Regions from separate parts of the Homo sapiens genome. Here regions 1, 2, 3, 4, 5 and 7 are each linked to region 6. The links are contacts of gene promoters, found by promoter capture Hi-C in blood cells and fetal thymus (Javierre and others, 2016). All regions are on one chromosome and are shown on one strand. The core of a region is centred on a gene start or on the middle of the fragment in contact, and the rest is flanking DNA. Distances in the headings are between cores, read along the strand shown. Region 1 has its middle 13 kb from the start of DSG2-AS1. Region 2 overlaps DSG2 (desmoglein 2). Region 3 overlaps TTR (transthyretin). Region 4 overlaps DSG2 (desmoglein 2). Region 5 has its middle 6.4 kb from the start of DSG2. Region 6 holds the start of TRAPPC8 (trafficking protein particle complex subunit 8). Region 7 overlaps B4GALT6 (beta-1,4-galactosyltransferase 6).

The links. The method cuts DNA at HindIII sites, captures the fragments that hold promoters and counts their contacts. A CHiCAGO score of 5 or more calls a contact.
Region 1: a contact is called between a fragment that was not itself captured here and the fragment with the promoter of TRAPPC8 in region 6, in 3 of 17 cell types (fetal thymus, megakaryocytes and M0 macrophages). The highest score is 7.5, in fetal thymus.
Region 2: a fragment that was not itself captured here is called in contact with the fragment with the promoter of TRAPPC8 in region 6 in 1 of 17 cell types (fetal thymus); the score reaches 6.5 in fetal thymus.
Region 3: a contact is called between a fragment that was not itself captured here and the fragment with the promoter of TRAPPC8 in region 6, in 1 of 17 cell types (fetal thymus). The highest score is 5.8, in fetal thymus.
Region 4: a contact is called between a fragment that was not itself captured here and the fragment with the promoter of TRAPPC8 in region 6, in 1 of 17 cell types (fetal thymus). The highest score is 5.6, in fetal thymus.
Region 5: a contact is called between a fragment that was not itself captured here and the fragment with the promoter of TRAPPC8 in region 6, in 1 of 17 cell types (fetal thymus). The highest score is 5.8, in fetal thymus.
Region 7: a contact is called between a fragment that was not itself captured here and the fragment with the promoter of TRAPPC8 in region 6, in 1 of 17 cell types (M1 macrophages). The highest score is 5.4, in M1 macrophages.

What each region holds. Positions count from the first base shown.
Region 1 is chr18:31,568,580-31,571,385 of GRCh38, forward strand. No RefSeq gene overlaps it. Among named protein-coding and RNA genes, the nearest start is that of DSG2-AS1, 13 kb to the left of the region's middle. The HindIII fragment of the contact is 5,620 bases long and covers 1-2,806 here.
Region 2 is chr18:31,510,322-31,513,195 of GRCh38, forward strand. The region is part of intron 1 of DSG2 (desmoglein 2); the gene reads left to right. Among named protein-coding and RNA genes, the nearest start is that of DSG2, 14 kb to the left of the region's middle. RefSeq lists an enhancer at 933-1,002. The HindIII fragment of the contact is 1,831 bases long and covers 418-2,248 here.
Region 3 is chr18:31,595,520-31,598,393 of GRCh38, forward strand. All of the region lies in intron 3 of TTR (transthyretin), which reads left to right. LOC124904277 (a long non-coding RNA gene) reads right to left here. Exons shown (of 2, transcript XR_007066326.1): 2 at 59-176. Among named protein-coding and RNA genes, the nearest start is that of TTR, 5.1 kb to the left of the region's middle. The HindIII fragment of the contact is 1,830 bases long and covers 506-2,335 here.
Region 4 is chr18:31,528,237-31,531,154 of GRCh38, forward strand. DSG2 (desmoglein 2) reads left to right here. Exons shown (of 15, transcript NM_001943.5): 9 at 2,751-2,918. Among named protein-coding and RNA genes, the nearest start is that of DSG2-AS1, 27 kb to the right of the region's middle. The HindIII fragment of the contact is 228 bases long and covers 1,226-1,453 here.
Region 5 is chr18:31,490,402-31,493,207 of GRCh38, forward strand. No RefSeq gene overlaps it. Among named protein-coding and RNA genes, the nearest start is that of DSG2, 6.4 kb to the right of the region's middle. The HindIII fragment of the contact is 2,426 bases long and covers 126-2,551 here.
Region 6 is chr18:31,941,577-31,944,582 of GRCh38, forward strand. TRAPPC8 (trafficking protein particle complex subunit 8) reads right to left here and starts at 1,552. Exons shown (of 29, transcript NM_014939.5): 1 at 1,032-1,552. The coding sequence starts at 1,188. RefSeq lists enhancers at 447-1,225, 1,327-1,536 and a silencer at 1,157-1,276. The HindIII fragment of the contact is 12,839 bases long and covers 259-3,006 here.
Region 7 is chr18:31,645,661-31,648,618 of GRCh38, forward strand. All of the region lies in intron 3 of B4GALT6 (beta-1,4-galactosyltransferase 6), which reads right to left. Among named protein-coding and RNA genes, the nearest start is that of B4GALT6, 37 kb to the right of the region's middle. The HindIII fragment of the contact is 4,430 bases long and covers 1-2,958 here.

The DNA of each region.
Region 1 (2,806 bases), core at 304-2,803, 370 kb before region 6:
GGGATCTCTGCACACACCAGCTCCCCTTCACCTTCTGCCATGAGTGGAAGCAGCCTGAGGCCCTCACCAGAACCAGATGCTGGCACCGTGCTTCTTATGCAGCCTACAGAACTATGAGCCAAATAAACCTCTTTTCTATATAAATTACCCGGTTTCAGGTATTCCTTTATGGCAACACAAAATGGAGTAGGACACCTAGACATCCAGGTTTATAAATGTAGACACATATATACGTGCATTTTCACACATAGCTTGTTAGAATGTGTGTGTCGCTGGGGCTCTTTTATCTATACACTTGGAAAAAGGCGTCTGCTTCATTTTATTTTTGCCTTTGCTCACCTCGGCTCCTTTATTTCTGATACTAGCAACTCAAGAAAGGGGCATTTTAATTCAATCAACCAAGAAAATCAATCCCAATTGACCTCGGGACCATATTTTTATTTTCATTGAAAGTTAACTAAAATTATTGAAAAGAATGAAAAATAATAAGAAACAGAAAAACCTAATAGCTTGGAACAACATGTATTCGCTAATTTTGTTTACTAATACCTCCATCCAGGGGAGTTATTTCTAGCAAGATTCTTTTTTATTTTTATTTTTATTTTTTTTTTTTTTGAGCGGAATCTCACTCAGTCATCCAAGCTAGAGTGCAGTGGTGCCATCTCAGCCCACTGCAACCTCTGCCTCCCAGGTTCCAGTGATTCTCCTGCCTCAGCCTCCTGGGTAGCTGGGATTACAGGCACATACCACCATGCCCGGTTAATTTTTTGTATTTTTAGTAGAAACGGGGTTTCACCACGTTGGCCAGGCTGGTCTCGAACTCCTGACCTCAAACAATCTGCCCACCTCGGTCTCCCAAAGTATTGGGATTACAGGCGTGAGCCACCATGCCTGGCCTGCAAGATCCTTTTTTATTGAGGCAATTAAAAGTTAGAAGAGAAGAAATGGCTGTGTAAAAATAGGAGCAGATAGAAAATGAGAATGGCCGGGTGCAGTGGTTCATGCCCACAATCCCAACTCTTTGGGAGGCCAAGGCTGGTGGATCACCTGAGGTCAGGAGTTCAAGACCAGCCTGCCCAACATGGCAAAACCCTGACTCTACTAAAAATACAAAAAATTAGCTGGGTGTGGTGGTGGGCACCTGTAATCCCAGCTACTCAGGAGGCTGAGGCAGGAGAATCGCTTGAACCCGGGAGGCAGAGGTTGCAGTGAGCCAAGATCACGCCTAGGAGTGCAAAAAAAAAAAGAAGAAAAGAAAAGAAAATGATAATCTTACCATCTCAGCCCTCAAGTAAAAGTAAAGGGCAGGGCTAAGTCAGCAGAATGATCAGGAAACTGATTCCACAGCCCTATTGCCTAAATAGGGAGGGACAAACAAGATTCAGGCATTTCCCTCTTGGTCTACATGTGGATTAGGTCCCCCACCAGTAAAAACTCCTCCCTAATAGTTCTCACAGTTGTTCACCTAAACCTGAGCAGTGCTCTGGGGTGCATTAGCTGGTGAGAAGCTCTCCTTGCTTGAGCCAGTTTTAGGAGAAGGAACAGTGGGATTGAAAGTCACTAGGGAGCTAGCCTATGGCCAAGTGCTATGAATGGCCTGCCATGTTCCAGAAACCCCCATGTGAGATCTTTCTCTGGGTTAAAGCTCCATGGTTGCTAATTGCTGTGAGAGTGATAGAGTCCCCTAAGTCTAATCAAGCCTGGAAGCTGAAGGACATTGTGTGGACTTGGGCCTTGAGAGGTTCCCGAACTCCAGAATTCTGCAAGTTATATGACTTTCATTTAAATTTTCTTTTTAATTGAGAAGGAGTCTCACTCAGCCACCCAGGGTGGGGTGCAGTGGCTTGATCACAGCTCACTGCAGACTCACACTCCTGAGCTCAAGCAATCCTCCTGCCTCAGCCTCCTAAGTAGCTGGGACTATGGGATATGCCACTATGCCCAGCTAATTATTTTTTGGTAGAGATGAGGTCTCACTACACTGCCCAGGCTGGTCTTGAACTCCTAGCCTTAAGCGATCCTCCTGCCTTGGCCTCCCAAAGTGCCGGGATTACAAGCATAAGCCACCATGCCTGCAGTTATATGACAATGATTGTTTCTCTTTAAACGAGGAAGCATTAGCTCAGAGAAATGAGAAATCTCTGTATGTAGTAGATGATGCAAACCATGCTAAAATAAACACATATAATTGGAGAAGCTAAGATCATTCTTAAAGCTAGGTCAGTCATTCCAGCTGCCAATCAAAACCTGCACACAAAAACCTGGACATAAGTATTTATAGTAGCTTTATTTATTTATAATTTGGCATAGTTGATGCCAAAACTTGGAAGCAATCAAGTTGCCCTTCAATAGGTGAGTGGATAAACAAATTGTAGTGCATCCACACAACAAAATACGATTCAACGATAAAAAGAAATGAGGTATCAGGCCATGAAAAGACATGAAGAAATTTTAAATGCGTATTACTAAGTGAAAGAAGCCAATCTGAAAAGGCTACATACTATATGATTCCAACTATCTGACATTCTGGAAAATGCAAAACCATGGAGACAGTCAAAAGACCAGTGGTTGCCAGGGGTTGCAGGGGAGGTAGGGAAAGAGAGGGGGATAACTAGGCGGAATACAGGGGGATTTTAGGGCAGTGAAACTATTCCATATGATACGGTGATGGCGGATATGTGTTATCATACAATTGTCAAAACCTCATTCAACACAAAGTGGATCCTAATGTAAACTATGGACTTCAGTTGAGAATAATGCATCAATATTGGCTATCAGTTACAACAAATGCACCGCACCGATGCAA
Region 2 (2,874 bases), core at 83-2,582, 430 kb before region 6:
CTCTTAGTCTGATCTATTAAAGTTTAAGGGATCACCTCACCATAAAACCACTGAACACTTCAAGATTCTCTACTTTAAAGGAAAGACTTCTGACAGAGAACCTGTCAGCCAGGAGGAGCTGTCATCCAGTGACTCATGAGTCCTTCTGGATTCTTGTTTAAACTCATCAAGGTGACTTCAGAACAGAAAGTCTTTTCTAAAAGTGCTGACCTTGAAAACAAAGAGTACATTGATTGATGGTGTTTGGTATTCCCTCATGCCTCTGCAGGAAAAAAAAAAAAATCTTTTGCCAGATACCAGGAAGTCCAGTTTTTATAAGATGTGCAGGATCCAATGGTAGAAAAATTTTTTACATGTTTTTCAAAGCAGCAAAACTAGTTAATAAAATACTTTTTTTAGAGTTTAGCAAATTAGAAAAGCTTTTGCAGAATTTTTTGGTTCATCTGAAAACACTGCTTTGGATACAGGAACTAGCAGCTTACTTTTCCTCGTCAGTCTTAAAGTCATGTTGCAGGTGACATTTTTCTGTCACCAAGTTCCTGGTGAGAAAAAAAGTCACAGATTTAGTGTTTGGAGGAAACCTTATTGGCCATTTTGTCCAGCCACCCCTCCCATGCTTGAAACCTCTTCACAGCATCCCCACAGGAGGTGACTCAAACTTACAGAGTGGACAGGTTTTTTAAAAAGTGCCAGGGAGTGGGAATGGAGGACTAAGGCAGAGAGTTTCTGCTTGTTCCAGTCATGTTACTTGCAGTATACTACCCACTAGAGATGTACAGAATCTCCACAGTCCTCTGCAGCTTGTATTACTGTCCTGACCCTGGTTATTACAGTAGCTTCCAATCAGAGAAACGCAGCCATGGTGTCTTAACCTCGGCACTTGGCCAGTTGCAGCCAGATAACACTTAGTTGTAAGGGCTATCATGTGCATTGTAGGATGTTTGACAGCATCTCTGGTTTCTACCCACTAGATGCCACTGGCATTTATCTCCCCTACCTCGAGCCCCACCCTGGTTTGACAACCAGAAACGTCTCCAGACATTACCAAATATCCCCAGTGGCAGGAGGAGCGGGGCAGGGCAAAACTGCCCCTAGTGGAGAACGATTGGTCTAAATTAAGAATGTGTTCTGTGAGATAGAGGATCTTAAGGAACCAGATCCAAATTATTTAGAAAGCAGTGGCTGAGATCTTAACTGCTCAGTCAAATAAACAGACAGTTCCACAATTGACAAAATGTTAGTGCAGTTCTTTTTTCTTTTTTTGTACAATGAATGAAGCAAATATTTCAGTCCATAACACCTTACTAAAAGCATGCTACTGCAATACGTGCTATAAAAATGCAGATAGCAGAACCCTCTTACCTAGATTCCAAGACAACCTTGACTTTAAGATGCACATCAATTCTTCTGATGTTTTAGTGTAACATACATCCAGAAAAGTGCACATATCACGAGTGCACTGAATCTTCACAAACTGAAAACACCATGTCACCAGTAACGAGGTGAAGAAACAGATTGCCAGCATCCCAGAAGGCCCCTTGTGCTCCCTTCAGTCCCTACGATCCCCCTGATAGCCGCTGTCCCAATTCACAGCAGATTAGCCTTGCCTGTGTCACGCTGGCTCCCTAGATGCTCAGCAATTTAATACCAGCCTTTTGAGAGAAGAAAAGAAACATTACATTAAAGATGTACAAAACCTCTAATATGCATCCCAGTTCCTTAACTAAAACCGACTGATGACTCCCAAATTTTTATCTCCGGGCATAACTTCTTTTCTGAGCTACTAACTCCTATATCCAAAAGGCCATTCACACAGAACACATAAAAACGGCTCTTACCTCCCATTTCACCCCTCCCTCAACACCACCCCTGTCTCCTGCCTCACCTTCAGCTTACCCCATCCCTCTCCCCATTCTGTCTCATCTCTGGAAATGGTGCCTTCACTCACCCAGGTGTTCCGGGTCAAAATTCTAAGGGTCATCTATATTTGCCCTCATTCATTCCATTCACAGGTCTCTGTTGCCTCTGCCTTCAAAATAAACACTGGAGATATCTACTTTCTTTCATCTTTACTGCAACTCCCAGGGTTTAAGCTAGTGTTATGTATTGCACGTGCTTCTGCAATGATGCAATGACTACAGTCTGGTCTCTATACATTTGTTCTTGCCACTTTATGGCCTGTTCTCCATACAGTAGCACCAGCGAGCTTTTTCAAACATAAACTGGTTGTATCATTTCCAAACATAAAAGCTTCCAGTGGCTTCCTCTCACACTCAGGATAAAACCCAAAGTCCTCTCCCTGACTGGGTACTGGCCTATCCCTGTGACATCATCATCACTGATTCACCACCGCATGGCCTGGGCGTTCCTTTTGCAGGGCTCTGCCTGACTGGCTTCCTCATACCATTCACGTCTCTGTGCAGATGCAGCCCCTTCTGAGAGTTTTCCCACACTTCCAAGTCACTCTCTACTATCCTGACCCTGCTTTAATTTTTTTTATTGCTCTTATCAAAACCTGGTCTGTCTTTGTCTCCCCAGTATGTAAGCATCCAACAGGGTAAGAATATTGTGTTACTTAACATATCCTACAAGCTCAGGAAATTGAGGGTATGAATTAATTCAAACTTGCAGAAATTTTAAGATAAGGACCATGCAAAACTTAGAATTGAGGAAATGTCTCATAAATTCTGTTTATTGAATGCCAGTCACTGCAATAGTTACATTTCATATATTTCTTTAATTTGCACATCAGCCCTGCAAAATGGATGTATCCTAGTTAGGTGGCTTTCAGATGCAAGTAACAAAACCCAACTAAAACTAGGTTAAAGAAAAGAATGTTGAATATCAATCGTAAGAAAAAGTTTAGAGAGAGAG
Region 3 (2,874 bases), core at 171-2,670, 350 kb before region 6:
ATATTGATGTATCTGCTGTTGAAATAATAGTTTATGAGGCAGCCCTCCAGACCCCACGTAGAGTGTATGTAACAAGAGATGCACCATTTTATTTCTCGAAAACCCGTAACATTCTTCATTCCAAAACACATCTGGCTTCTCGGAGGTCTGGACAAGTGATTCTTGGCAACACATACCTATAGAGACAATAAAATCAAAGTAATAATGGCAACACAATAGATAACATTTACCAAGCATACACCATGTGGCAGACACAATTATAAGTGTTTTCCATATTTAACCTACTTAATCCTCAGGAATAAGCCACTGAGGTCAGTCCTATTATTATCCCCATCTTATAGATGAAGAAAATGAGGCACCAGGAAGTCAAATAACTTGTCAAAGGTCACAAGACTAGGAAATACACAAGTAGAAATGTTTACAATTAAGGCCCAGGCTGGGTTTGCCCTCAGTTCTGCTATGCCTCGCATTATGCCCCAGGAAACTTTTTCCCTTGTGAAAGCCAAGCTTAAAAAAAGAAAAGCCACATTTGTAACGTGCTCTGTTCCCCTGCCTATGGTGAGGATCTTCAAACAGTTATACATGGACCCAGTCCCCCTGCCTTCTCCTTAATTTCTTAAGTCATTTGAAACAGATGGCTGTCATGGAAATAGAATCCAGACATGTTGGTCAGAGTTAAAGATCAACTAATTCCATCAAAAATAGCTCGGCATGAAAGGGAACTATTCTCTGGCTTAGTCATGGATGAGACTTTCAATTGCTATAAAGTGGTTCCTTTATTAGACAATGTTACCAGGGAAACAACAGGGGTTTGTTTGACTTCTGGGGCCCACAAGTCAACAAGAGAGCCCCATCTACCAAGGAGCATGTCCCTGACTACCCCTCAGCCAGCAGCAAGACATGGACCCCAGTCAGGGCAGGAGCAGGGTTTCGGCGGCGCCCAGCACAAGACATTGCCCCTAGAGTCTCAGCCCCTACCCTCGAGTAATAGATCTGCCTACCTGAGACTGTTGTTTGCCCAAGAGCTGGGTCTCAGCCTGATGGGAACCATATAAAAAGGTTCACTGACATACTGCCCACATGTTGTTCTCTTTCATTAGATCTTAGCTTCCTTGTCTGCTCTTCATTCTTGCAGTATTCATTCAACAAACATTAAAAAAAAAAAAAAGCATTCTATGTGTGGAACACTCTGCTAGATGCTGTGGATTTAGAAATGAAAATACATCCCGACCCTTGGAATGGAAGGGAAAGGACTGAAGTAAGACAGATTAAGCAGGACCGTCAGCCCAGCTTGAAGCCCAGATAAATACGGAGAACAAGAGAGAGCGAGTAGTGAGAGATGAGTCCCAATGCCTCACTTTGGTGACGGGTGCGTGGTGGGCTTCATGCAGCTTCTTCTGATAAATGCCTCCTTCAGAACTGGTCAACTCTACCTTGGCCAGTGACCCAGGTGGTCATAGTAGATTTACCAAGGGAAAATGGAAACTTTTATTAGGAGCTCTTAGGCCTCTTCACTTCATGGATTTTTTTTTCCTTTTTTTTTGAGATGGAGTTTTGCCCTGTCACCCAGGCTGGAATGCAGTGGTGCAATCTCAGCTCACTGCAACCTCCGCCTCCCAGGTTCAAGCAATTCTCCTGCCTCAGCCTCCCGAGTAGCTGGGACTACAGGTGTGCGCCACCACACCAGGCTAATTTTTGTATTTTTTGTAAAGACAGGTTTTCACCACGTTGGCCAGGCTGGTCTGAACTCCAGACCTCAGGTGATTCACCTGTCTCAGCCTCCCAAAGTGCTGGGATTACAGGTGTGAGCCACCGTGCCCGGCTACTTCATGGATTTTTGATTACAGATTATGCCTCTTACAATTTTTAAGAAGAATCAAGTGGGCTGAAGGTCAATGTCACCATAAGACAAAAGACATTTTTATTAGTTGATTCTAGGGAATTGGCCTTAAGGGGAGCCCTTTCTTCCTAAGAGATTCTTAGGTGATTCTCACTTCCTCTTGCCCCAGTATTATTTTTGTTTTTGGTATGGCTCACTCAGATCCTTTTTTCCTCCTATCCCTAAGTAATCCGGGTTTCTTTTTCCCATATTTAGAACAAAATGTATTTATGCAGAGTGTGTCCAAACCTCAACCCAAGGCCTGTATACAAAATAAATCAAATTAAACACATCTTTACTGTCTTCTACCTCTTTCCTGACCTCAATATATCCCAACTTGCCTCACTCTGAGAACCAAGGCTGTCCCAGCACCTGAGTCGCAGATATTCTACTGATTTGACAGAACTGTGTGACTATCTGGAACAGCATTTTGATCCACAATTTGCCCAGTTACAAAGCTTAAATGAGCTCTAGTGCATGCATATATATTTCAAAATTCCACCATGATCTTCCACACTCTGTATTGTAAATAGAGCCCTGTAATGCTTTTACTTCGTATTTCATTGCTTGTTATACATAAAAATATACTTTTCTTCTTCATGTTAGAAAATGCAAAGAATAGGAGGGTGGGGGAATCTCTGGGCTTGGAGACAGGAGACTTGCCTTCCTACTATGGTTCCATCAGAATGTAGACTGGGACAATACAATAATTCAAGTCTGGTTTGCTCATCTGTAAATTGGGAAGAATGTTTCCAGCTCCAGAATGCTAAATCTCTAAGTCTGTGGTTGGCAGCCACTATTGCAGCAGCTCTTCAATGACTCAATGCAGTTTTGCATTCTCCCTACCTTTTTTTTCTAAAACCAATAAAATAGATACAGCCTTTAGGCTTTCTGGGATTTCCCTTAGTCAAGCTAGGGTCATCCTGACTTTCGGCGTGAATTTGCAAAACAAGACCTGACTCTGTACTCCTGCTCTAAGGACTGTGCATGGTTCC
Region 4 (2,918 bases), core at 90-2,589, 410 kb before region 6:
TGTATGCAAATGTTCATAGCAGCATTATTCATGATAATAAAAAAAACTAATAGCAGTCCAAATGTCCATCAGCTGGTGAGTAGATAAACAGAATGTGGTGTATTCATATGATGGAATACTAATGAGCAATAAAAAGGAATGAAGTACTGATACAAGCTACAACACGGATGAACCTCAAAAACATTATGCTATGGGCTGGGCACGGTGGCTCCCGCCTGTAATCCCAGCACTTTGGGAGGCCGAGGTTGGGGGATCACCTGAGCTCAGGAGTTTGAGACCAGCCTGGGCAACATGGTGAAACCCTGACTCTACTAAAACAAAAAATTAGCCAGGTTTGGTAGTGCATGCCTATAATTCCAGCTGCTTGGGAGGCTGAAGCAGGAGAATTGCCTGAACCCGGGAGGCAGAGGTTGCTGTGAGCCAGCATCACGTCACTTCATCCCAGCCTAAGAGACAGAGCAAGACTCCATCTCAAAAAAAAAAAAAAAAAAATTTGCTGATTATGCTATGTATAAGGAGCCAGACACAAAATAGTACATATTACATGATTCCATTTACTTGAAATTTCTAGAAAAGGTGAAACAATGGGGATAGAAAGCAGACTGGGATTGCTTGGAGTGGTGAGTCTGAGTGGGGACTGACTACAAACACATGTAAAGGAACTTTTGGGGGTGATGGAGTGTTCTAAAACTGGACCATAGTGATGATTGCAAATCCAGAACTCATCATGCTGTACACTTAAAATGGGCAAATTTTATTGTATATAAGTTATACCTGAATGAAGCTGTCCAAAAAGGATAAAGGAGATGAACGGATATTTTTAAATATGGAAATAGAGATAGTAAATAGTCACATGAGAAAAATTCACAGCTTTGTTAACAAATTAACAAATAAACTTACAATCTTTAATGTTATTAAAAAATAGCAAAAATGGAAATGATAAAATAAGTTTACAGAGTTGTAAAAAATAGAGGTCTATTCCCTCACACAGCGCTCTTGATACTGAAAATTTTCCATTTGCTTTGGAGCATTATGGCTATTTATGACTAACACTATGAAACACTTATGGCCCCAATACCTAGCTTTTATTTATTTATTTATTTTTTCATGGTCTTGGCCTTTGGATACTAATGACATCTGGCTGGAAGATTTTATTTCTCATCCGGCATATATCATGCCATCAAACAAGCATGTCAAGTGCAAGAGTGACTTAAATAAACTAACAAGCTTTCACAAAGATATTACAATCACAAAGGATGTATTTTCTCTAGTCTTTTTCTCCTGTGTCCTTGTCTCAACATCATAGTGATCCATATTTTTAAAGGGTGCAGAAGTTGTGATCCATCCAGAGCCCAATAGAGAGGAAAACTGACTGACTTATTTTGGTGAAAATAAGTAGTGGTAGCTCCAAAGGAAGGAAATTCACAATGAATTCTCCAAAACACAAGTGAAAAGCTTTGCTGTAATTCATGTAAACATGCCTAATATATTTAATTTTATACTGAAGAAACAAGCAAAAATGTTTAGTGCATCTAAATGGTCAGAGATACTGGAAATAAAAAGCAACAGGACCTAAGTAAACTTTAGGTAGTTCTTTTAGTAATAGGATATAGGTCAACAGAGGAAAAATAATGTGTATAAAAATGCTGAGAGCAGTATTAATTACATTTAGAAATTGTGATAGCCCAAATGCCTAATTATAGAATGACTGTCTATATCTAAGTAGTAGAATACTATGGAAATGTTTATAAAAAGAAACATTGAAAAGTTGGAACATAAAATATGTATACAGTAATGAACTGATTATTTCAAATGGAAATTGTGCTATTACAAAGAACTATTTGAAGAAAGGTTAATCTTTTATGGAATTAACAGCAAACCAGATATTAATAGGTATTATGCTAAAAAAGAGGAGAGTGGGGTTCTTTGTTTAAACAGATTTGAAAATCTCTAGGTTTCTTCTTTACTCCAGGAATTCAAGTATTTTAATATGCTAATGTGTAATATATAGCTATATTAGAGGGACAGAGCTCACAGAGCTACCACTACTTATTTTCACTAAAATAAACCCATAGAACACATTTTAAGGAATACTGATTTATACTGAATGCCCACTAATTTTTTACATTAGAAAAAAAATCACTTCAGATTGTTAAATATATATACACATATCTATAGATATGTGTGTGTGTATGTTTTGAGACAGGGTCTCACTTTATTGCCCAGGCTGAAGTGCAGTGGCATGATCATGGCTCACTGCAGCCTCAACCCTCTGGGCTCAAGCAATCCTCCCACCTCAGCCTCCTGAGTAGCTAGGACCACAGGCACGAGCTATCATGCACAGCTAATTTTTGTATTTTTTTGTACAGATGGGAACTCCCTATGTTGCCCAGGCTGGTCTCAAACTTCTGGGCTCAAGTGATCTACCTGCCTTGGCTTCCCAAAGTGCTGGGATTACAGGCATGAGCCACCATGCCTGAACAAAATATATATATATATTTACAGTAATTTCAACATTTAGGAAAATAAATTGGTAATACTTCCTAAACATCCTTAACATTTATGACTATCCAGATTGACAGAATTTTTATTTGCTTGGTGTCAGTATAAGAGTTGGACTATTCAGTGCTGCTATATTTCCTGTGCATTAAATTATTGTATCTAACATTAAAACCACACATGTATATGTATATGTATACATGTCTTCTGTTTTCTCTTTGAAAAGAATTCCCTTTGGTTTTCCCTTTCAGGAAGTAGATTATGAAGAAATGAAGAATCTTGACTTCAGTGTTATTGTCGCTAATAAAGCAGCTTTTCACAAGTCGATTAGGAGTAAATACAAGCCTACACCCATTCCCATCAAGGTCAAAGTGAAAAATGTGAAAGAAGGCATTCATTTTAAAAGCAGCGTCATCTCA
Region 5 (2,806 bases), core at 89-2,588, 450 kb before region 6:
ATTTCAAATGACTTGCTAGGCTTTTCTAATTGGATTTTGTTCTAATGTCTCAAATTCAACATGTTTTTACCAAAAGGAAAGTTTTTACTTCTGATTCCCTGTTTGTGTCAACATGATGAAAAGAAAGCTTTTTTCACAGCTAAAGCGAAAGCCCCTGACTCTTCATCAACAGTGTCTATGCTTTGAGTCACTCTGCCCTGGCAGGTTCAACACCTGGTTCACAATTACTCATCCTTTAAGAATCACTTCAGCAAACTTCCTCCAAGAAGCCTTTTCTAACCCCATAGTCCAAAGTGTGAGGTGGGAAACCTTCATTGTTCATATACTGCATGTGTAGTTCTACCACAGTGGTTATATTATTTTATTTTATAAGTAATTATAGTTATATTATTTTATAAGCACCTATTCTTGTTTCTTTCGATACAGGAAAACATTTAATTTTGCATTTCTAGTAAAATGAAAATTAAATGTTTGTTGAACAGGGACAAGGTAAATATTGAATAAACTAGTAGAACTAAACCAAAAAACAGATTCCTCCTCATATTTCCCTTCTCAGATTACCTGGGAGTATTTCACATTTTGTCCTGTGTCCATATGCCCTTTGCTAATCAACATTCTATGAGTAATCCTCCTGACCATGATAACCTTTTTTTATAACAGCTACACAACTCTATGATTTGTTTATAAAGCATTTTAAAAGGATAGCAACCAGATTTAGCTCTCACCTGTGAAACATTAATTCTAATACATATACTCATGAGATTTTCACTGGAATTAAGTGGTCAGCCACTTATCAGACCTTTAGCAAAGAACTGTCCATTTTTAAAATAATATTTAATGCTAGGATGTGTTGGCAGTAAGGAGCAGTGTTAGTAGAAAAGAGATATATTAATTTTCATTGATCTTTCTGAAACCCTTTAAAGTATTTTTGGTTTTAGATCATATTAAAGGGGTGATTTTAATGAGCTAATCACTTGAAGATTATTCTTATCTGTGTATGTGTGTGAAGCAAAGTATTCTGGAAAACATAAATTCAGGTAGATATTTTGAATATATCTAGATGTTAAAGGTAATTATTATCCACACAAAATATGTTTTGAACTAATCCATTCTAAATGTCTTAAGAAAAGTACATTTACCGTAATGTTCAACTAACTTGGGGGAGGAAAACATGAAAGTTAAAATTTTCACATCCTGTTAAGACTTCAATTTATTTTAAACAAATCCTTAGTCCTTTGTTGGTAATGGCTACATTTATTTTTGTGCACAGAGATGTATGAAACAGATTTACTCTAACCCCAGCATAAAGAAGTTAGGAGCCAGAGAGTTAGCTGTGAAACATCTGATTCTCAAGAAGTTCCTTCACCTCTCTGAGTCATAAGTTTTAGAATTTTTAAAGTAGAACTAATTCAGGAGTGACATGCTATGGCACTGGATGACATATTGGCACCTTCTCTCAAAGTCCTGGGGAAAATGTCTTATAGAAGGAATACTACCTTGAAACTAACTTTGATAGCCTTCAGGGGAGGTTGAATAATACAACAGAAATAAAGTTTGCATTGGCTATTTCTCATTCTGGAAGCTATGATTATCTTCATTGCTGAATAGAAACCAAAGACTTAATAATGAGGCATAAATACTTCTCTATAGGACTCAATTGCAAGGGCACAAATTTAAGGCAGGACTGACACATAGTTTCCTACAATGATTTCTGCAAGTGATTTGGTAAAGCCTCACTTCTTAAATCAGGAGTGCTCCCAGCATGATGGCAAACGAGAAGTATCCCCAAGGTGTGCTAATACCCACATCTAGCTCAAGAGAAAGGAGTGGAAATTAAGACATATTTCCTCCAGATTCAATGATGTAAAAAAGTTTACTGAGAGTATCCCATAGTACAGAGCACAGTTTGGGGCACTTCTGAGCACATTAATGAGCTAAGTCCTCAACTAATTCAGCCACCGTCACTTAAGTAACTGCATGAGAAAATCCACTCAGCAGCTAAGCCCCAAACATATGGAGAATGTGCTTCTCTCAGCTCAAATAGGCAGTGGTCCTTGGGGAACTGAGAAGAAAGAGTGTAATGAGGAGGTGGTGACTGTACTGGATCTTGAAGATTGGCACTTGGGAGAGAAGGGTGAGAGATGCTACCAGAGGGAGAGGGGGCATTTTGGACCACAGAAGGAACTCTACTATTTGAGCCAAATTTAATACCAAACCTCTCTTTCTAGTCTCCAAATAACCCTTTATGCTTATATAGGTGTGGAAAAAAAGTTAGATATTACATTTGAACTCAATTGAACATGGACACAAACAACGGTCACCAAGTCCCAGAACAGGTCATGTGAGCCCCTTGAGGAATTCATCCAGCACTGTTTCGAAGAAATCTCTATTTCAATCTACACCTATACGTTAGTTATTGAAAAACAACAGACAGTCGCAAAAACAAGTTGACCTTTTGTGTTATCTGAGCCCAGTCTCGAAGGGCCCTCGTGACTGGGCCTCATGCCGAACAACTGGTTACAAAAAGAGCTAGGGTCCCAGACTGCAACGAAGCTTCAAGAGACATCTTCTTGTCTGTGTACAGATGAGTGGCCGACTCTGGAGCCCAGGCTGTTGCTTCTCAGCCTGGTGATGAATCCTCCATAGTCTGAGGAGTGTGTATATGTGTGTGTGTGTGTGTGTGTGTGTGTGTGTGTGTATATATATATATATATACACACACATATACACACATATACATATATATCTTTTCCCTTCTCCCCTTCCCATTGCAATTTGCTTATTATATCAATTTTCTTATTATATC
Region 6 (3,006 bases), core at 302-2,801:
TGTTTTTTTGGACAGCTCCCTCTCTCCGCTAAAAACAAAAGCTAATTTATAATGGAACTATTCTCCCAAAAAACATGGTAGCGCAAAAATGGTACAGCACTGATTTTTTTTGTGGATAAGTCATATTAAGCTAACAAACATCACAGTCGTTTGCCTGACACAGGCTTATTATGAAACCCTTCAGTTCTTACCGACCTTAACAAAAAAAACTTTACTTGGACTTTGTTGTTTGCAAGATATTGGCTAAAACATGCTTGAAGCTTTACCACATTATTTTCTCCTAATAAAAAAATCCAAAACTGGAGAAAACGGGTAGCTTCTTAACAAGACATTCATTAACAAGAGAAGACATTTCCATCCCTATAACTATAGATAACTCCAAATATCCAGGTTAAATTAACCACAACTTGGGCTTGCTTCCTCTTCCTTAGGGCAAAAAGCTGCTTCAAGTTTTATTCTTCTTATAATACTTTTAATTTTCTTGAGAGGTTAAGCAAAATACCGTATAGCTAAGAATATATTAGTAAAACAGCTACACGGTAGTTCAGACAGAGATGACCCTCAACGCTACAAGAATGTAATAACATCCACAACTACTTTCAAAGTCCAGTTTAACATCCAAGGGAGGATGACAGGTCTTCCTTACTCAGACCCTGTCGGTCTAAGAGGCAGCATTTTCCTACCTTAGCTGCTTTGCAAGTGCCTAATTCCTTCGCTATGGCCGTGGAGAACAGTCTCAATGCCGTTCTCGAAGACTCACGTTTATCTTTGCACCAATTACTTAACGACCTAGGTTGTCCGAGGAAGAAAGGAAGTGCCCAGAGAAACTGGAGCTTAGGACTGCGCTGTCTTGACAACCTCACGGTCCCTCCTCCAGCCGCCCCCGGAGCACCGCGGGGCCACAGCCCCAGACGCCACGGTACCGGCTCCAGGACGTAAACACTGCCCTTCTCTTCCCTGCCCGCCCGCAACTTCCTTCTCCCGACCACGGCTTTGCGGGAGCCCACTGGAAAAGGGAGGATACCACATACCCTCGGAAGTGAGGCGGGAGAAGGGCTTAAGCAGCTCCGCGAAGCTGAGGTGATTGAGACGAGTGAGCCGCTCGGCTTCGTCGCTGCACAGCGCAGCGACACAGGGGACGAAGGAGTCCGGGATTAGCTCCTGCACTGATTGTACACACTGGGCCATCGCCGCAGCACAGGCAGCGGCGGCGCCCGCCCTCCGGCCCACCCTGCGAGGTTATCCTGCGGCTGCAGCAGCTACCGCCGCCGCCCGCCGGCCTGGCCCGGCCGGGCGGGGCCCCGAACGCACTGGAGCCTAGAAACAAGAAGGAACAGACGCCGCCGCTTCGGTTTCTGGGGCACAATCCACTGACCCCCCCCTTCCCGTCACCGCCGCTTCTCAGCGCTCGTCCCCGCGTGCTCGCATTCCACCCCGATAGGTGGAGACGCCGACAGTCACCACTTAGTCCTTCGGACGGCAAAACCTTGGTCACTGCCCGGCCGGAACCGCCATGTTGAGGCCGAACCCTGACCAACCGGCAGTACTACTCCCAGCTGCCCCCGCGCGCGTCCCTCACGTGACTGTGTTAAAGGAGACGGTAGGGGCAAGGGAAGAGAGCTGAGGAGAGGGAAGTGAAAAACGACGGAGGCCGGTTGGGAGGCTGGAGCCGGAAGTGTTGTGACGGAAGCTCCCTGGGCGGGGCGGGGCTACAAGTGCGGTGGGCGGGGGCGGGGGCGGGGGCGGGGGCGGGGGGAGGTGCACAACTGTAGGCCGGGTTCTCAAGCTCGCCCTTAGCAGAGCAGAGCTGAGAGCCACCTACTAGCGGCAGGTGGAGCCTCGAGACGGGTGCTGTCGTGGTGATGGAGGCGCACGCTCGCTTCCCACGCAGTTTGGCCTTTTTGACGTCCCTGGCTGTTGTGGGCAACCGATTTGGTTGGTCGCGCTGCTTCCTACGCTCGCCGGCGGAGCAGCTAGTGGCACCTGCTCGGAGAGAGGGAGTGGATCTCTCGGAAGTGCTTGGGGTTTCGCTGAAGCGGACCTGAACAGACCATGTGTCCTTTAAATACAGCCATGCTTTTAGAAACGGACTGTCACTTTATGTGGACTCAACCATTGAACAGAATGTGTGCTTTTGTGAGTGCTGCAATTCCTTCAAGTGTAATTGCGCTACTGCATTTTTGTTGGTCGCAGGGAAGGGGTGTGCCTGCAAATGTCCGCGTGGTTCGTCCTCAGCCTCTTCCTTTTTACACTGTGCTAGGATGTTTACTTGCTTGTGGTGGAGGTAGGGGAAGCCAGTATTTGTGTACTGTGTACTGTCCTGAACCGGCTTTCATTCCTAACTTTTCAAAGATTGCTTTAAAGGGGGGGGGGCGCGGGTCAAATATTGTTTTAAAGGGGGGGACGGGGTGAGGTCAATGGTGTGTGCCTTGTAAGTAGAAATGAATGAAAGGAATTTTACTAATGTGTCACTCAATTGTTTGAGCTCCTTCTGTTTTGCATGCCAAAAATATAAGGCAAGGAAAAATGTATCATTCTATCATGATTTTATGGTGCTCTAATTAAAGGTGTCTTCCCCAACGTCAATGTCTCAAATTTTTCGACTTCTTGACACCCTCAGGTTTTCACTAAGGTAATAATTTATGACAAGTAAGATGTGTGCTTCTCATGTAAGTTGATAAATGGGAGGTAGGAAGGCACAGTAGGACATATTGATGACATGCCTTGGCTACAGATTAATTTATAAGAGAGTCCATCACTTTAGGAGATTTATTTGCCGAAGTTAAGTACGAGCCCAGGAAACAGGTCTATGCCTTTCTTCGAAGATGATTTTGAGTGCTCCAAATTTAAAGGGGAAAGGGCGGGATATTGAGAAGCACACCGTTTTCATGTAAGGGGGCGGTAGGAGAAAATAGTAATTCTTGCCTTTCTCTGGCTCAGTGAATCTGCATTTTTTACATAAGATGACATAAAATGGGCAGAGGAAGAATGTGGGAGTCTGCATTT
Region 7 (2,958 bases), core at 92-2,591, 300 kb before region 6:
TATGGTCACCCTTCTATGTTTGGTAAATCGGCCAAAGAAAATCAAATTCTTTTTAAAAACCGTTTTGCTTTTGGGTAATATATTGAATAATTTAGTATTATTTGGAAAATGTTTGCATGTCATTATAACTTAACACTGCAATTTAACAACTATTCAAATATTTTAATACCATTTTTAATTTTAACATTTTCAACACAGGGGACACAATGGCACAGTACTTAACAATGAAATAAGCAGTCAGATTGACTGGGAACTGATTCCTAGCTTCTGTCTATTGGGAAAATGATTTAACCTCTCTGTGCCTCAGCCTCCTCCTCTGTAAAAAGGACAGTGATGTCTGCCTCCCAAGGTGGTTGTATCCATTCCAAGAAATCATCTGTGTGAAGGATCATATGCCGTGTCAGGCATTAGGTACAACCAACAAATGTTAGCTACTATTACTGTTACCTACTGACATTTCTTAAGAGAGGGAATTTGCAAACATAATTCAAAGTACTGATTCTGAGCACTTACCATATATCAGGCCCCTTGGCATACAAAACTGAAAAACCACTTCTGAGGTATTCCTGGTCTAACAGGCACTCATTCTCCAAATTAACAAATATATGACATTACTGGAGGTGTTCTTACTAGTAGCTTTTCTAATGTATACCATTGAAACAGGAATGAATCTTGAATGGAAAACCACTTCCGTTAACCCCAAAAGAGAACTAAGAATCAAGAAGCCTCTTTATCTCCCCCTGAATTAAAATAGCTGCATGATCACTAACATCCCTTCAAAGCAATGCTATCTTCAATGACTTCACTGTTAGAACAGGATGTAAAAGGCTATTGAAACTACAGATCATCTTTTAGCAGTTTTAATGTCATCCGTTAACTTCCAAATAGGTACAAATTGCTCTGGAGCGCCCTCCAGCCAAATTCTTCTCTCTGACCTCATCTCATAAAATACAAACCAACAAATGTTGAGGTTTCCCATTTCGAGTCTTCTGAGTTTCATGTGGCCACAATTTCATATAAAAACACTCAGTTCCTCTCTAGAGAGCCTCTTTGCTCCTGCTATTCTATATTTTAGGAGTTTTCACAATGGCCTCTCTTCCTGTCCCCACTTCATCCTAACCAGGCAGAGCTGTCTGTAGCCTCCACGCAGGCATGCTAGAGTATTTTACATCGAAATACCTGCTTCCCAGAATAAGTTAGAAAAAGAATTGCAATCTTCTAATGCCTGCCTGTTCTACTGACAACATAAGCAGTCTTTTATAACCAAACACTCAGCCTTCAGCGTGACAAGATACACAAACTAGCTAATCTTAGAAAGGTCAGATTCATCTAAAAGAAAGAGAAACCTATGAACTTGCAGAGAAAGAGTAAGTAAAATGTAAGATTGATCAGTAAACATAAGTACAGACTATCATGACTCAGCTGACAAAGAACAGAATCTAACATTGTAATCAAATAAAATTTACACAAATAAATCTGATACATTTAATAGTATGCATGATTGCTAAAATGATAGTAATTAGGCTAAATAATAAGCAGTTCATATAAGTAACTGAAGCTGGTATTCTTTCTGCACTGTTAAACCACATTTTTTGTCTTTTTTCCAGCTTTATTGCTTCAACAGCTGTAATCATCATTATTGTCAGCAGTTTTCTCCAGCATCATTTGCAGTTTAATTTCCATCTCCAACGCATATGTGCTGGCAAGAGACAGGCTTTATTTCTTTCCCTCAATAGAGAGGGCTTCCTCTGTCCATCACTATCCCCATGCCTGAGGTATCCTAAGTTCACACTCCTCGGGGTTGTGCACCTCCCCCACCCCATCCACACCCCTCAGAGTCCATCAGGAGCTTTCCTATGTGCTTGTTGCCCTTTGCTCTGAAATCCTAGTAATTTGCTCATTGAAGGCTAAAGATTGACCTGGTGGCATGCTACCCATGATAAGAGCAACATCGCTATACTGGGGAGTGTAGGGGACAGGCCTCCCAGGACAAGTATTGCCACCACTGGGAACAGCGAAAGTGTGATCAGAGAGAGGAAGAACAAACATTCATCATTGTGGGGAGTGGTATTAGGGAGAAGATCCTGTACATAGGAAGGGAAGGGAAAAGGTCATGTTATAAAAAGAGTGGCCAGGAAGAAGTATGCTGCAGATAAACTAATGATGGTGTGGTTTCCAAACCGTCCTTGGGAAGGACCTCTCTCAGGGATCCTGTGGTTGGAGAAGGGAGGACTCAGGCTCCCCCAACACAGCCACTTTCATCTCTTTCGCGTACTCTTTTGTCCCCTTTAGGTTTCACTCAAGAAAGCCTTCCACTGCTTTAAAAACAAAACAAAAGGCATCGGAAAACCACCTGCTATGAATGAAGCTAGAGAGGGAATGTCCTTCTTGTAAAGAAGGACACCATCAACTGGGCCAGTCCCCTTTATTTCACTCGCTGAGATTTCAAGGGCAACTGAAGAGATCCACTGAACTCCATGGAGAGCCAATCTTCACTCTCCTCTGTGGTGAATCTGAGATTGGTTGTTGTTGTTCTTAATCCCAGATGTAATAGTATAAATCTAAGATTTTTAACTGGCACAAGTGGTTTCTTTCCCAGTTAGAGATTTAAAGATCAGAAAATAAATATGTTGACTGAAATCCATTTACCCAGCAGTGTAATCACAATCAGCAAATGTAAATAATATAATTTACCAAATACTGAATTTCACTATTTTGAAGGTGGCGCTGGGGTTAGAAAGGAAAGAGCAGGAGAACTGAGTGTCTGAAGAGTGGAGGGGCTGCCAAGTACCTAGAAGGTCAAGGTGAAGGACAGGGAACTCAAGTCAGCTGGAAGCTACCTTCCAGTCGTGTGTGCCAAACTGCTTCTATCATGTGTGAGGGTAACTTAGTTGCACCATTGGTTATGTAGGACATTTACTATATCCTAATGCTGAATTTGCAAGATATGCAGCAATG